Regions from separate parts of the Homo sapiens genome. Here all the other regions are linked to region 1. The links are contacts of gene promoters, found by promoter capture Hi-C in human tissues and cell types (Jung and others, 2019). All regions are on one chromosome and are shown on one strand. Each heading gives the region's core, a stretch centred on a gene start or on the middle of the fragment in contact. The rest is flanking DNA. Distances are from core to core; before and after follow the strand shown.

What was found. The method cuts DNA at HindIII sites, captures the fragments that hold promoters and counts their contacts. A contact is called where the count stands out against the background at its distance.
Region 2: a contact is called between a fragment that was not itself captured here and the fragment with the promoter of LOXHD1 in region 1, in 1 of the 25 tissues and cell types used here (H1 embryonic stem cells).
Region 3: a contact is called between a fragment that was not itself captured here and the fragment with the promoter of LOXHD1 in region 1, in 2 of the 25 tissues and cell types used here (lymphoblastoid cells and mesendoderm cells).
Region 4: a contact is called between a fragment that was not itself captured here and the fragment with the promoter of LOXHD1 in region 1, in 1 of the 25 tissues and cell types used here (H1 embryonic stem cells).
Region 5: a fragment that was not itself captured here is called in contact with the fragment with the promoter of LOXHD1 in region 1 in 1 of the 25 tissues and cell types used here (spleen).

What each region holds. Positions count from the first base shown.
Region 1 is chr18:46,655,734-46,658,574 of GRCh38, forward strand. It overlaps LOXHD1 (lipoxygenase homology PLAT domains 1), which reads right to left and starts at 1,487. Exons shown (of 41, transcript NM_001384474.1): 1 at 1,171-1,487. The coding sequence starts at 1,300. RefSeq lists enhancers at 1,735-2,684, 2,495-2,544. The HindIII fragment of the contact is 5,571 bases long and covers 1-2,841 here.
Region 2 is chr18:46,414,508-46,417,348 of GRCh38, forward strand. The region is part of intron 1 of ARK2C (arkadia (RNF111) C-terminal like ring finger ubiquitin ligase 2C); the gene reads left to right. Among named protein-coding and RNA genes, the nearest start is that of ARK2C, 82 kb to the left of the region's middle. RefSeq lists an enhancer at 107-1,055. The HindIII fragment of the contact is 5,765 bases long and covers 1-2,841 here.
Region 3 is chr18:46,439,840-46,442,680 of GRCh38, forward strand. All of the region lies in intron 3 of ARK2C (arkadia (RNF111) C-terminal like ring finger ubiquitin ligase 2C), which reads left to right. Among named protein-coding and RNA genes, the nearest start is that of ARK2C, 110 kb to the left of the region's middle. The HindIII fragment of the contact is 6,852 bases long and covers 1-2,841 here.
Region 4 is chr18:46,458,551-46,461,391 of GRCh38, forward strand. ARK2C (arkadia (RNF111) C-terminal like ring finger ubiquitin ligase 2C) reads left to right here. Exons shown (of 8, transcript NM_152470.3): 8 at 1-2,841. Among named protein-coding and RNA genes, the nearest start is that of ARK2C, 130 kb to the left of the region's middle. RefSeq lists an enhancer at 1-373. The HindIII fragment of the contact is 7,215 bases long and covers 1-2,841 here.
Region 5 is chr18:46,483,613-46,486,453 of GRCh38, forward strand. It overlaps LOXHD1 (lipoxygenase homology PLAT domains 1), which reads right to left. Exons shown (of 41, transcript NM_001384474.1): 39 at 1,407-1,539; 40 at 1-133. Among named protein-coding and RNA genes, the nearest start is that of ARK2C, 150 kb to the left of the region's middle. The HindIII fragment of the contact is 5,750 bases long and covers 1-2,841 here.

The DNA.
Region 1 (2,841 bases), core at 237-2,736:
CAGGGGCTGAATGATGAGGACTAAAGACAAGTACAGCAAGGCCCCACCCTCACGGAGTTTAGGGTGACTGTGGCTGCAAGCCGGACACAGCTGGACAAGCTTTGCAGGAAACAATGGAACAATTATGAATTGGATGTAATCAGGGAACTCATGGTGGACTGGAATCAAGGAGGGCTTCATGGAAGAGATGGGATCAGAACTGGGCTTTCAGAGTGAGGACAGGAAGAGGGAGAAAGGGGAAGACAAACAAGGCCATGGGCAGGCACAGAGCACACATTCAATAAATACTTGCTGAATGAATGAATGAGTGAATGCATGGATGACTATGGCGCTTACGGGGACTGGTGAGCCACTTTGGAGTCAGCATTGAGAATTTAAATGGCTTCAGAGACTAGGCAGGCAGCACTGATGAGTAAACCAGACCTAGTATGAGATGACAGGGAGTGGTGGAGACTGTGATAAGCTGGACGTCCACAGCCTATTGGCATTCACAGAAAAAAGGATTTCAAAACGCTGGAAAGGAAAAAAACAACTTAAACTCTGCTGGCCAAAACCAGCTCTAGGGTCACAGTTCACTTCTTTGGTTTACCTGGCAAGGAGTTAGAGCAATTTCAAGCAGGTCTCATGTGGCCCAGGGAAAGATGAGACTAGAAGGACAAGGCCCTGGGGTCCAGAGCACCGGCCGCCTTCGACATATGGGATGGACATCTCCTTGCAAAGCCCCAGGCTCCCTGTCTCCATCAACCACAGTGGGCATAGGATGAGCTGTCAGGCTTCCTCCCCAAGACATCCTTTCATGACCCCAGCAGTTCAGGGCGCTCTGCCTGATGCAGACCACCTACTCGGGGACCAGACTGGAACGTGGCTTTGGGGATGTTCAGGAGCTGGAGAACATGGGGCCATGGGGGCACTGTGGCTCTAGTCTATTCTGTTCCACTGAGAATCGGGGGCTAAAGGCAAGTTGCTCCACCTGTCTGTACAACAGGGACCCCACCATCCCTGCATAATGCCTGCCTTCTTACTCCGAGGGGATATGGAACAGACACATGGGATAATCAGTGAGGAAGGGCTTGCTCCGAAATCTTAGAATGACTCCCCATAGACAGGAACAGACCCCTGCCCACCGCAGCCAGCTGCACCACCCGCCCCCCGCAGGCTGGGACCCCGCACCTCTGGCCTTGTAGTACTCGTGTTCCAGCTCCCCCTCGTCGTCCTCCGAGGCGTAGTTCAGCAGCTCCGCTTCGTACAGGGCCAGGAAGTCGATGTCCTTCTTCCTCCGCCTTTTCTTCTGGGGCATCATTCTGTCGGCTGCCTTCTCCCAGCGCTCGCAGGCTCACTGTGCCGCCTCCTCACACCTGCGGGAACCTGAGACCTCCTCCCTGAGCTCTGGCGCCCACGGCCCTCCTATAGCTCAGGCCTGGGTGGGCCAGAGTGCCCCGTTTTCTTGGCTTCCCCGTGCCCAAGGTGCTGTTCCCTCTGCCTTCTCTGGCTCCTGAGCTGAACCTCAGTGCCTTATCTCTGAACCTCCTGTCCCTGTCCCCTCCCACCACCCTCTGGTGAGCCACCTCCTCCTCCTCTGTACCTGCCCCGGGGCTTCTCTTTGGGCCTCATCACTTATTCATGGCGCTGAGGGCAGGCTGACTTCCTTCCTCTCTCCCCTCCCCACCAGCCCTCTCTCCTCCCTATGGAGAATCAGGTGACACGGAGCCCTTGAAGTCCATTTCCCACCTGGCCTCACAGCCAGGGGGTCACCTGGGATCCCTCCAGGCCACCCCAGGGACAGGTGAGGGCTCCTCACCCAGGAGATCTCCCAAGCCTTACAGCCCACACGGGACCCTCCTGAGGAAGGCGGGGCCCCGGAATCAGCCAGGCTCCCAGGACTCAAAGGCCCCCGTTTCTCTCCATTATTCATGACCTCTGATCGTCTTACGGAGCAGGCGGGGTTCTCGCTGGATCCTTCTCGTTCTCTCTCTCTGCTTCCATCTCATCAAGACTGCGGGCTTCCGGAAGTGGCCTCTGGGCACGAGGAAAGCTAGGGCACCAGAAAACTCTCCCCGCTCCCCCTGCCAGGTGAGCTTTATATGCACTAAAGTTTAAACATCATCGTAGCCGATGCCCTCCCAGGTGAACTCACTAACTAGATCAGCTCACCACCTGGACTCACGGGAGGGCATCAGCAAGCTCCTACCCCAGGGCGCACAGCCCGGGCTGCACACCAGAAGCCCCCAGAGAGGTGTTGAACGCTAATGCGTGGGTCCCATCCCCAAGGATTCTGATTTGCTTGGTTTGGGACGCAGCTTGGGCCCCAGTTTTTAAAGCTCCTGGTGACTTTCATGTGCAGCCATGTTGAGGGTCCCTGAATCGCTTCTCAGGTAACTTAGGTGTGCTAACAGGAGTCCTCTAGAAGCAACACGTGTGATTTTGTCCTCTAAGCCAAAATAGTGACTCTAAAGGGGAATTTCAGGTGGAGAGGAAGAGAGGATTTGGAGCGGACGCCTGAGGAGCAGTCGGCACTCACAGGCCTCCCCGGCAGCCTGGGGCAGCTTTGGTCCTGCCCTGCTCTTTGGAGCCATCCAAATCTTCCACTAGGGGGAGGCATCTCTAACCCCGAACGTTCCTACCCAGGAAAGATCAACCTCCCCTCTTCCCCTATTCAGCTGAGGGGCCGCCCTTGAAGCAGCTCAAAGTCCTCTGAGGACCAGGAGTGAAGTTTAATGGTGGGTGGCGCGCGCCCCCTTCTGGCAATATGTGGTTTACACACCTGGATTCTTCAGGAAGAGACCTTCCTTAAGGATCTCTAGGAATCTACTAAGAAAACTCATTTTACACGAGTACCCATTC
Region 2 (2,841 bases), core at 138-2,637, 240 kb before region 1:
CATGCACATATCCATGAATAGACATATACCTGCACATGAACACGTTCACACAAATCCCACAGACACATGCTCGCACATGCCCATATCCATACCTACACCATGCACACACACATGCTTATACATTCATGATCATGCCACGTACCACACAATACACACATACACAGATGCACGCTCACAGACACATGCACATACACACAGCCTTGAGACTCCAGAAGGGCAAACACAGCACGTGGAATCCTGGTCCTCAGGTCCTCCTTTGCCCCAGTGCGGAGGGCAGGTTGCAGAGGCCTCTGGGAAAGGCCATATGAGTGGCCGTGTTAGATTCATTGGGAGCCATTTCACCCCTAGGAAACATTTTCATTTTGTGTCATCACAGCCTTGTGAATGGGGAGCGTGCACTTCCACCCAGGGCTGCAGGAGGATGTGTGAGGGAGTAGGGGCTGAGCTAAGCCGCAGTCCTGCTGGGCCTTTATTCTCAGCTCATGGACACTCCATCGGCTTCAGATAACATCTGGAGCCAAAGCCCAGGAAATGGGCAGGGGAGGGAGCAGAAGCCAAGTCAGCCTGTGCGCTGCTGCAGTTTCAGGGCCTGGTGGAGTCCCTGTGTCAGTCCAGAGTGTCCCCTCCCCAGGCCTACATGACCTCTGCCAGAGTTTGACTGACACTCATCGAAATGTGAATACCCACGTGAGCCCCAAGGCAGTGACCTTACCAGTAAGTTGCTGAAGGAAGGCGAGGCACAGTGGTTCACACCTGTAATCCCAACACTTTGGGAGGCCGAGGTGGGCGGATCACGAGGTCAGGAGATGGAGACCACCCTGGCTAACACGGTGAAACCCCATCTCTACTAAAAATACAAAAAATTTTTTATATTTATAGGCAGTGGTGGGCGCCTATAGTCCCAGCTACTCGGGAGGCTGAGGCAGAAGAATGGCGTGGACCTGGGAGGTAGAGCTTGCAGTGAGCCGAGATCGTGCCACTGTACTCCAGCCTGGGCGACAGAACAAGGATCTGTCTCAAAAAAAATAAAAAAAATAAAAAAATAAATAAAAATAAAAAAGTTGCTGAAGGAGCCCCCTCCCTGGTGCACTAGGCCCTTTATTGAGAACGTGTTTTGGTGGTGCTGAGAGTGAAAGACGGGCTTGGAATCAAACAGGCTCCAGATTCCCAACCTGGGCCAAGTGATGCTGAGCAAGTCTTTCTAACCCTTGAGCCTCAGTTTCTTCATCTCTAAAATGGGAATAATGGGAATAATGCCCATAATTCATTGCACTGGATGGTTGTAGGGCTGAATTTGGGAAAAGCTTTGTGACAGGTAAAGTGATATGCTGATATGACTGGGATCATCACAGAGGGACTGAAGCAGAGTTCACGAGGGACCTGGAGTGCCAGGTGGGAGGAGAGGTAAGCAGGGAGGCAGAAAACAGTGCCTGAAGCCTTGAAAATGGAAACCAATTTGGACACCCAGTGCTGCACCAGCTGGCCACTCAGGGCTGGGGTTTGTCCTCAGCCTTCCTGACTTTGCTGCTGGCATTTTCATGGCTAATTAACATGTCATGGGGGTGGAGAGGAAGAAAAACTCAAAACAATTGATTTGTCTATTTGCCAGCACATCTGGGAAAAGGCTGGGTGTGGGAGGTCAAAATCAAGGCTAAAAATCAGTGCTTTGCATTCTCAAGGAAACACACGGATCTGCAGGAAAGCTCTAGGAAGTCAAAGCTCAACTATAAACTCTTGAGACAGCAGTGGGCATGGAGGGAGGAGGCATTTAAAGCTCTTCTGGCTTTGTGAGGAGAAGGGTGACACAGAAACCTGGCTCATGATAAGGAAGCCAATGAAGAAGTCATCATCCATCCTTCCCTCCCTCCATCCGTAAGCATCCGCCAAGCACCCAGATTGCATCCAGCCCTGTCCTGAGGGTGCTCTGGGTGTTGCATGGAGACAATACAGGGACTTTTCTCTTTAAGCATTCAGATTCACATTCAGAACATTGAGAGCACAACTCAAAATTGAGTCCCCACCTCAATAAACGACAACGCCATTTGTATCAGTTAGCTTTTTCTGTATAACAATCACTCCAAAATTTGGCCTTAAAACAACAACCTTTTATGCAGCTCACAAGTCAGTGGGTTGGTAATTTGGGTTGGGCTCAGCTGGGAAGTCCTTTTGGTCTTCTTGGGCTCACTCACATTGCTGCAGTCAGCTGGGACAGATGGGTCTAGGACAGTTTATTTGTATATCACATGGTCTGTCATTCTCCAGCAGGTTAGCCTGGGCTTGTTCTTATGGTAGAGGCAGGAGACCAAGAGAGAGTGGAAACTGCAAGGTCTCTTGAGGCCTGGGCTCAGAATTGGCATGATGTCACTTCTGCTACCTTCTATTGGCCTAAGCCAGTCACGTGGCCATGCCCAGAGGCAAGGGGTGGGAAAGTAGACTCTGCCTTTAATGGGAGGAGCTTGTATGGGAGGGTAAGCATACAAGGAGGGGAGAAATTGAGGCCATTTTTGCAAACTATCAGCCACACCAATCTTCTAGTTGCTTAGCAAGCAAGATATGGAGTCTATCTTGTCCTCTGTCTCTCAGGTTTTACATCCAATCCATGAACAAATCTTGTCACCTGTACCCTTGAAATGAAATATATTTTGGATCTGACCATTCCTTTCACCTTCCCCCGATTGCCACCCTAGTCCAAGAAACCATCATCTCTTCCCTGGTTCCTGCTTCTTACCTTTGCCTTCTGCAGCCTATTCTATTCAGCAGCCAGAGAGTCAAGACCTGTCACTTCTCTGCTCAGATACCCTCCTCAGAGTCAAAGGCAACATCCTGTAATGACCAGTGAGG
Region 3 (2,841 bases), core at 94-2,593, 220 kb before region 1:
TTGTTTTTTTGAGACGGAGTCTCGCTCTGTCGCCAGGCTGGAATGAAGTGGCACGATCTTGGTTCACTGTAAACTCTGCTTCCCAGGTTCAAGCGATTCTCCTGCCTCAGCCTCCTGAGTAGCTGGGACTACAGGCGCACACCCTACACCCAGCTAATTTTTGTATTTTTAGTAGAGACAGGGTTTCACCATGTTGGCCAGGATGGTCTCGATCTCTTGACCTCGTGATATACCCGCCTCGGACTCTCAAAGTGCTGGGATTACAGGCGTGAGCCACCACGCCCAGATCTCATGGCCAGTTTTACTCATCTTTGTTCTCTCGCTTCCCCGGTCCTGATATTACAGTAGTCTCCATTACCTGTGGTTTCGCTTTCCAGGGTTTCAGTTACCCATGTAAACCACGGTCTGAAGATATTACAGCATTTTGAGAGACTGAGAGAGAGAGAGAGAGAGAGAGACCATATTCACATAACATTTTTTGCAGTATATTGTTATAATTGTTCTATTTTGTTATTGGTTATTGTTAGCCTCTTACTGTGCCTAATTTATAAATTAAGCTTTATCATTGGTGTGAATATACAGTATAGGAAGAAACATAGTATATATAGGATTCCTTATTATTCACAGTTTCAGGCAGCCACTGGTGTCCTGGAACATATCCCTCACAGAAAAGGAGAAACTAGTATATTTGGAAACAAATCCAGGCATCATATTATTTCATCTGTAAATATTTCACTATGTATCTCGAGAGATAATGATTCTGCTTTTTCACATCCTTACTTTGATACCACTATTAACACAAAGAAATTTAATAATAATTTTTACTATAATCAAATATCTAGCCAGTATTAAAATTTCTGTTATACTTTGTATCAATCAAGATCCGAATAAGTTTTACACATTGTGATTGGTTGATATGTCACATAAGTCTCATTTAATCTACATGTTCCTGGATTCAAATTGCTAAAATTTTGTTAAGTAATTTTTACATCTTTGTTCATGAGTAATATTGGTTTATAGGGTTTTTTTTTTCCTTGAAATGCCTTTGTCTGATTTTTATATCAGTGCACTGCTTGCCTCATTGAATGGTTTGGGAAGTCTTTCCTCATCTACTTTCTGGAAGAGGTTGTGTAGGATTGGCATTATTATTTTTAATTAATTAATTAATTTTTAGATACAGGGTCTTGCTCTGTCACCCAGGCTGGAGTGCACCTTGGCTCACTGCAGCCTCGATCTCCTGGGCTCAAGTGATCCTCCTGCCTCAGCCTCCCAAGTAGCTGGGACTACAGGTGTGCACCACTGTGCCCAGCTAACTTTTTGTTTTTTAAATTTTTGTAGAGACAGAGTCTTGCTATGTTGCCTAGGCTGATCCTCTACTTCTGTGCTCAAGCAATCCTCCCACCTCACCTCCCAAAGTGCTGGGATTACAGGTGTGAGCCACTGTGCCCAGACGCAGGCTGGTCTTACATGCCTAGGCCCAAATGATTCTCCTGCCTTAGCTTCCCATGTAGCTGGGATTACAGGTGTGTGCCACTGCATCTGGTAATTTTGGTAGTTTGTCTTTCAATAAATTTTCTCATTTAATTGGATGTACTGGCATAAGGCTATTCATAATATTTTCTTATCATTTTAACATCTGGAATCTGTAATAAAGCTCCCTCTTTCATTCCTCATATGAGTAATTTGTATGTTCTCTCTTTCATTCTTGATCAATCTAGATAGAAATTTAATCATTTGTACTACTCTTTAGAAAATAGCCTTTGATCAGGCCAGGCGCGGTGGCTCATGCCTGTAATCCCAGCACTTTGGGAGGCTGAGGCAGGCAGATCATGAGGTCAGGAGATCCAGACCATCCTGGCTATCATGGTGAAACCCCGTCTCTACTAAAAATACAAAAAATTAGCCAGGTGCAGTGGCGGGCGCCTGTAGTCCCAGCTACTCGGGAGGCTGAGGCAGGAGAATGGCGTGAACCGGGAGGCGGAGCTTGCAGTGAGCCTGGGCGAAAGAGCGAGACTCCATCTCAAAAAAAAAAAAAAAAAAAGAGGCCGGGCGCGGTGGCTCACGCCTGTAATCCCAGCACTTTGGGAGGCCGAGACGGGCGGATCACGAGGTCAGGGGATCGAGACCATCCTGGCTGACACGGTGAAACCCCGTCTCTACTAAAAATACAAAAATTAGCCGGGCATGGTGGCGCGCGCCTGTAGTCCCAGCTACTCGGGAGGCTGAGGCAGGAGAATGGCGTGAACCCGGGAGGCGGAGCTTGCAGTGAGTCGAGATCGCGCCACTGCGCTCCAGCCTGGGCGACAGAGCGAAACTCCGTCTCAAAAAAAAAAAAAAGAAAAAGAAAATAGCCTTTGATCCCATTACTTGTTTTTTATTTCACTGATTTATTTCACTGATTTCTGATCTTGATTTTATTATTTCCTCCCTTCTACTTATTTGGGCTCTAGCTTCTTAAGGCGGAAATTTAGATCATGACTTTGGGTTTTCTTTTCTAATATAAGCATATAAAACTGAATTTTTCTTTAAGGACTACAAACTTTCTAGTTAGCATTATGAATTCTTTTTGACCCTGGGTAATTTAGAAGTTTATTATTTAATTTTTGAAAACTTGGGATTTTGCAGACTTTTCTTGTTGTTGATTTCTAATTTAATACCAGTGTGATCAGAAACCATACTCTGTGTAATTCTAATCCTTTTATATTTATTGAGACTTGTTTTATGGTCCAGCATTTATACTATCTTAGTAAATGTTCTATAAGTATTTTTAAAAAGTGTATATTCTACTCTTATTGGATAGAGTATTCTATAAATGTCTCTTAGATCAAGTTAGTCGACAGT
Region 4 (2,841 bases), core at 156-2,655, 200 kb before region 1:
TGCTACAAGGGTAAAACCAGGACCAATGGGTAAAAGTAACAGGCGGGCAGATTTTGGCTTGAGGAAGAGCTTCTAGCACGACTGGTTCATGCGGGAATAGCTGCTCTGGCCACCTGCAGGCAGAAAGTGGGGGAAGTGGCTCCTGGCAGGAGATTTCTCCCAGCACTAATATCCTGGTGTTCTATAAAATCTTTATTGAGTGCCTACCGGTGCAGGCGCTGGGAGAGACAATAGCTTTGAGGAGCTCACAATCTAGCTGAGGAGACAAGACACATCCAATGCTGCAAAAATGGTGAATAACCTGATTCAGGGTTAGCAGCAATGAGTATCACAGCGTCCAACTCAGTAGCTCCAGTGTATGAAAATGTCTCCAGGGCTAAAGGCTGGAGATCTCACCAGTGGGGAAAGTACATCTGAGTCAGGATTTTGGGGGAAAGCTAGTTACTGATAGCCACAGGAAGTTGAGACTTCTGCCCCATTCTCTCCAATGGCTGGGTGAAAACCAAGAATTCATCGGAAGATGGCTTTGGCCTGGAGGTAGCTAGGGTGGTCTAGGAAGCTCACTCCTCTCTTAGTCTCAGTCTTTCATTCTTTCTGCTGAGACTGGCCTGAAAGGCTGGCAAGTGGGAGGGAGTCAGTGGGGAGGCCAGGATAGAACTAGAGCTGGTGTCCCAGGTTCCAGTCTGGGCTCTTCACTGACAAAGTGGGCAACACTAGAAACTTCCCTTTGTCTCTCTGGGCCTTAGTTTCCTCAGTTACAACCTAAGGAGGTTGGATTGGATGCTTGCTAATTTCCTTCTGACACTCACACTCCCTAACATCAACACATCTTCAAGGCGGCAGAGCTGTGCGCCCACCCAGCTATTGAAAAGGACTTTCTGTGGGCACACACTCTGTTTCAGACTGGGCTGGGGGCACACGTGCTGGGTGAGACAGTGGGCCCTCGTCCCCTCCCCCCTCCCAATTCTCTGCCCCAGGCTAATATTAGGGACTGGGGAGGGGACCACCAGAGGGGAGAGGGAAGCTGCTTACTTTGGGGGTAGACCCTGAAGCCCCTCCTCCTTCCCCCACAGATGGGGACAGGAGGTGATGGGGTGCTCAGAACCCTGCAGCTCCCACTTCTTTAGCCGGGCAGCTGTTTGGGGGACAAGAGAGGGCCAGGGTCTGTGCTTCTGCTCCCGGCACTGGTCAGGGAGTCTGGGAAGAGTGGAGAAGAGGCAGGGTCAGGCCTCAGCATCTCACATCCACCACCTCCAGGAGGGGAGACCACTGGTAAGTCCTCCTCCTGCTCAACTCAAGGGACTCAGACCCTTTCTTGACTGAGACGCATGAGTGCCTTCTGGGGTGAGAGCAGCCCCAGGGTTTAAGTTGGGCGTCCTAGCAGCTGCAGCAGCTGTGCCGCCGCGGGTCCACCGAGGACGCCAATCAATCAACCCAACACCACAAGCTTGGTTGGGTGCAAGCAGAGGGTGAGCAGGGGCTGCCCCTCCACCTGGCCAGGACCCCCTTCGGCACCCAGTTGCCCTTGGCCACCACCTGTGGCAGGACTCAAGCTCCTCTTCTGCAAATGTTCCCAGCCTCCGTGCAAGTATTCTTAACTCTTTACGCCTAATGAACAAGCACAGTTTTTCAATGGTGAAGAAAAAAGCACCAGACTTTTTTTCTTTTTTTCCTAAAGAAATCCCCTAAGCCCCCCGCCTGTAGGCGGGACAAACACTCCCTGCGTGGGGCTGTAGCAACGTCTGTCAGGCCCCCTTGTGTTTCATCTCCTGCGCGCGTAGAGCAAATGCTAGAGCGATTTCAGCTGATAGAAAAACAAAAATGAAAAAAAAAACACAAAAAACAAAAAACATGGCACGTTGCTAGTTTACAGGGTTTTGTGAGTTTAAATGCCTTATATTTAACAATCATAATTTATGACTAACTTGTAGATATCGTGGGTTCTTATTTAATTATTTTTATAGTTGTTTTGCATTTTTAATTATAATTTATTTATTTAGAAAGGATACTAATTTTTTTTATTACTCCTATTACCTCATTTTGGCGTTGTTTCTGGGAGTGGAATGCTTTGCATGCATTGGTACGATGACAAACAACTACGAATACAAAAAAAAAATTTAAATAAAATTCTGCAAACTTTATTTCGTCCGAACTATCAGGGTGTGTGATTGCAAGCTGTCCTACCGTGGTGCTGGCCTCTTTGGATACATTCCATACGAAATGCAAACCTTTGATTCTGTATGCTGTGATCTAGTGAAAAACTCCAATATAGTGACTGTATTTAGCACATATATAAATATAATTTGCACTTGTCAGCAGACTGGGGTAATCCTTTCACTTGCTACACTTGGCACCCCCCCGCCCCCACCACAACCCTGCCTCTCCATCATGAACCTGCCTTTCCTCCTCCCTCGCTCCTCCCACAACCTCAGCCCACCCAGCCGGTATCCTCTGAGGAAAGTCTTGGGGCACTAGAGGCCACTGTCTCCACCTGGCCTCCAACTCCAGAATTGGAGCCCTCCAGACATTACAAGAGGAACATCAGAGAGCCAAAAAGCCTGACTTCTTAGAAGGAGCCCTGGACTGGGGAGCCGGGAGGCTCAGGTTTTCAAATCTGCTCCATGACAGACGTCCCAATGACCTTGAGCAAGTCCCTTGGCCCCTGAGTCTCAGTTTTCTGGGTGGGGTGAGTGAGGAGAACTGGGAGATCTTTAGGGTCCCTTAGATTCAAGTAGAATGTGACACAGATCCCGTGGGAAACCACTGTGCTGTGCTGTCTCACCTTCTGAGGAGAGAAGAAAGAGGGAGAAAAGGCAGGGCATGGTGGCTCACGCCTGTAAT
Region 5 (2,841 bases), core at 253-2,752, 170 kb before region 1:
GGTGATGGTCTTGACATGCCAGGCAAGTTCTCTCTTGGGGATAAACCGGTCTTCCCTGGCAAGGTGGCCCACACAGAGGGAGGCAATGTCCCCCAAGTAGATGCTGTCAAACTCAAACGTGTCTGTGGTCCCCCTGCAGGAAACAAAAGTGTGGTCCATGAGCTGCCTTTGCCCACTGAAGCAGGTAAGCATTTGTCGGGGGCCTGCTGCATTCCAAGCAGTGGGCCAGGGAACAGGGATGGGATGGCAAGCAGGAGCTCATGGCAGTCCTGGAGGCTTTGAGGGGTTCAGTTCAGTTTGGGACCAAGACAATCACGATGAAAAAGCCCCACTAGCTGCCTGGCCTCAGCACCAAAGAATGGTGACATCGTTATGCAGGATGGAGATGGGGAGGGTGGTGAGACTTGGAGAGCAGAGGGAGGAGGGGAAGGGAAGAGTCCCCTGTAACAGACATGTCTTAGCAAAGTCATAGGTGGGAACAGTGGGGTGTGGAGGTGCAGATATTTCTGGGGGAATGCTGGCTTGGGTGAAGTTTGGGTTCAGGGAGGGAAAAGCTAATGGAGAAGGTATGGGTGCAGGCAGCCTGTGGGGGTAAGTGCCAGTCTAAGGTGTCCAGACTTCATCCTGAGGTAGAGATTTGAAGAAAAGGTTGTTATAAATGGAATGTCTGTGCCCCAGTTCCCCCAAATTTATATGTTGAAACCTATTCTCCAGTGTGATGGTATTTGGAGGTAGGGTCTTTGAGAGGTGATGGGGTCATGAGAGCTGAGCCCTCATGAATGAGATTCATGCCTTTATAAAAGGGGCCCTGGAGAGCTCCCTCCGCCTTCTGCCATGTGAGGACACAGTGAGAAGATGGCTATGAACCAGGAGGCAGGCCCTCACCAGACACCAGATTTGCTGGTGCCTTGGTCCTGGACTCCCAGCCTCTAGAACTGTGAGAAATACATTTCTGTTGTTTCTAAGCTACCAGTCTGAGGTATTCTGTTATAGCAGTCAGAATGGACTAAGAGAAAGATGTAGCAGAGTTAAGGGGGAGGTGGAGGCTGTCTCAGCAGTCCTGGAGAGAGTGAGGAGATGAAGTGGGCATCCGAACAGTTCAGAGGTGGCTCTGATGGAAGGAGGTGTGGTCCTTGTCTACGTAGATGTGGGGCAATGTTTGGACTGAGTAGCACTGTCCATCCACAGGGTGGGCTCCCATTAAATGCAGTCCCATGCTTTCCCTTTCACCATTGCCTGTTTAGCCCCTGGGTGCTTGCACAGGATTGGCACACAGTAGGTGCTCAGTAAGTACTTGCTGGTTAGGCCCATTTGTGTACCTATGGCTCCCACCCAAGAGGGAGATTCTCGGGGTCCTCCCTTACCTACCCACCCCCCACCACTTCCCATGGGCCTCCCCTTCCTACTTCCTAAAGGCCCGCTGCCTAGAAGAATTTTCCATGAGAAACTCTTTGGATCGGTTCTTCCTGCCCTCCAGGATGAGCCAGACGTTCTCCCTGGTTTCGCCTCCGTTGCCCGTTTCTATGACGATCTCGTAGGCTGTAATGGAGGAGGTGGGGGAGGGTCAGCACAGGGGAAGCAGTGCCCGTCTTCAGGGCGGGAGCAAGAGGGTCACGGCCTCCGGTCCTTCATTTGATCTTAGGCTGCAGCCTGGGGGTGGGGGAGGCAGGTTAAAAGCACCACGATTGAGGCGTTGTAGGTAGAATCTGCCCGGATTCTGGGGCTACAGCGAATGCTCTCATTTTATTTATAGTAGCAACCTCTTTGTAGGCAAATATGGGAGCCACTGGGAATGCAGCAGGAGGTGGGGCTGAACATTCAGCTACAGGGGTGAGATGCAAAATGGAGATTGGTGCTGAGAAGGGACAAGAAGTGGGGCCCAGTGCAAAAGCAAAGGGGAAAGACCCAGGCAGGCAAAGCCACCCCAAAGACCCTTGCACTTGCTCCAGCAAGCAGTCTCACTTGCATCTTGTCTTGGTGTCACTCCATCTCACCCTGCTATTCACTCAATCGTGTCTGCACAGGTGTGCACTCCTCCAACACTGGTTAAGTAGGTGCCAAGTGCCAGGACTGGACTAGACCCTGGGTGACACTAGAACTCAATCTCTAGCCCCAGACACAAACATGGACTGTACCATATGACAGAATGTGATAGATAACCCTGCAAAAAAGAGCCAAAGTACCGTGGGGTAAGAGGAAAACCTGGCTCCCCATTTCCTCTCCCACCTTGTGTCCTGGTACTTTCTCTCTTTCTCACTCCAGCCACTCTGCCTCCTAGCTGCACCCAGAGCACTTAGGTGTGCTCCTCCCTAGAGCTCTGCAATGCTGTCCTTCTGCCTGGAGTCCTTCCCTCTTTCCCTCTCCCTCCCCCACCCATAGTGGCGTGGCTCACTGACTCACCTCCTTCTCATCCTTACTCAAAAGTCATGTCTCAGAGATGTCTATCCAACCACCCTAATTAAAATTGCTACCTGATCCCCCTAAGCCAAGATACTGAGAGAGTGTGACATGTGATCCAGGCTCACTCCCCAGGGACCAGACCAGGGATGGAACCAGCACCCTGGAGGACACAGTAAGTGTCTGGCTCAAGTGTCCCCAGACATAGACCCCTTGCTGCAGTACCTGGATGACTGACGGTCTGGGATTCTGGATCCAAAGGGGTAGCTCTGTTTCTGTGCCTTTATCTCAGAGACATGATAAAAATAATGAAGATGAGAGACGGCCATACCTGTGGCTCAATGTAGCACCACTCCCAGCCCCTCAGCCACCCTTTTGCCTCTGTAACTTTTCTCAAGGAGAAATCTCTGCTACCTGAAACAAGTAGAGTGAATCTAGGCAAAG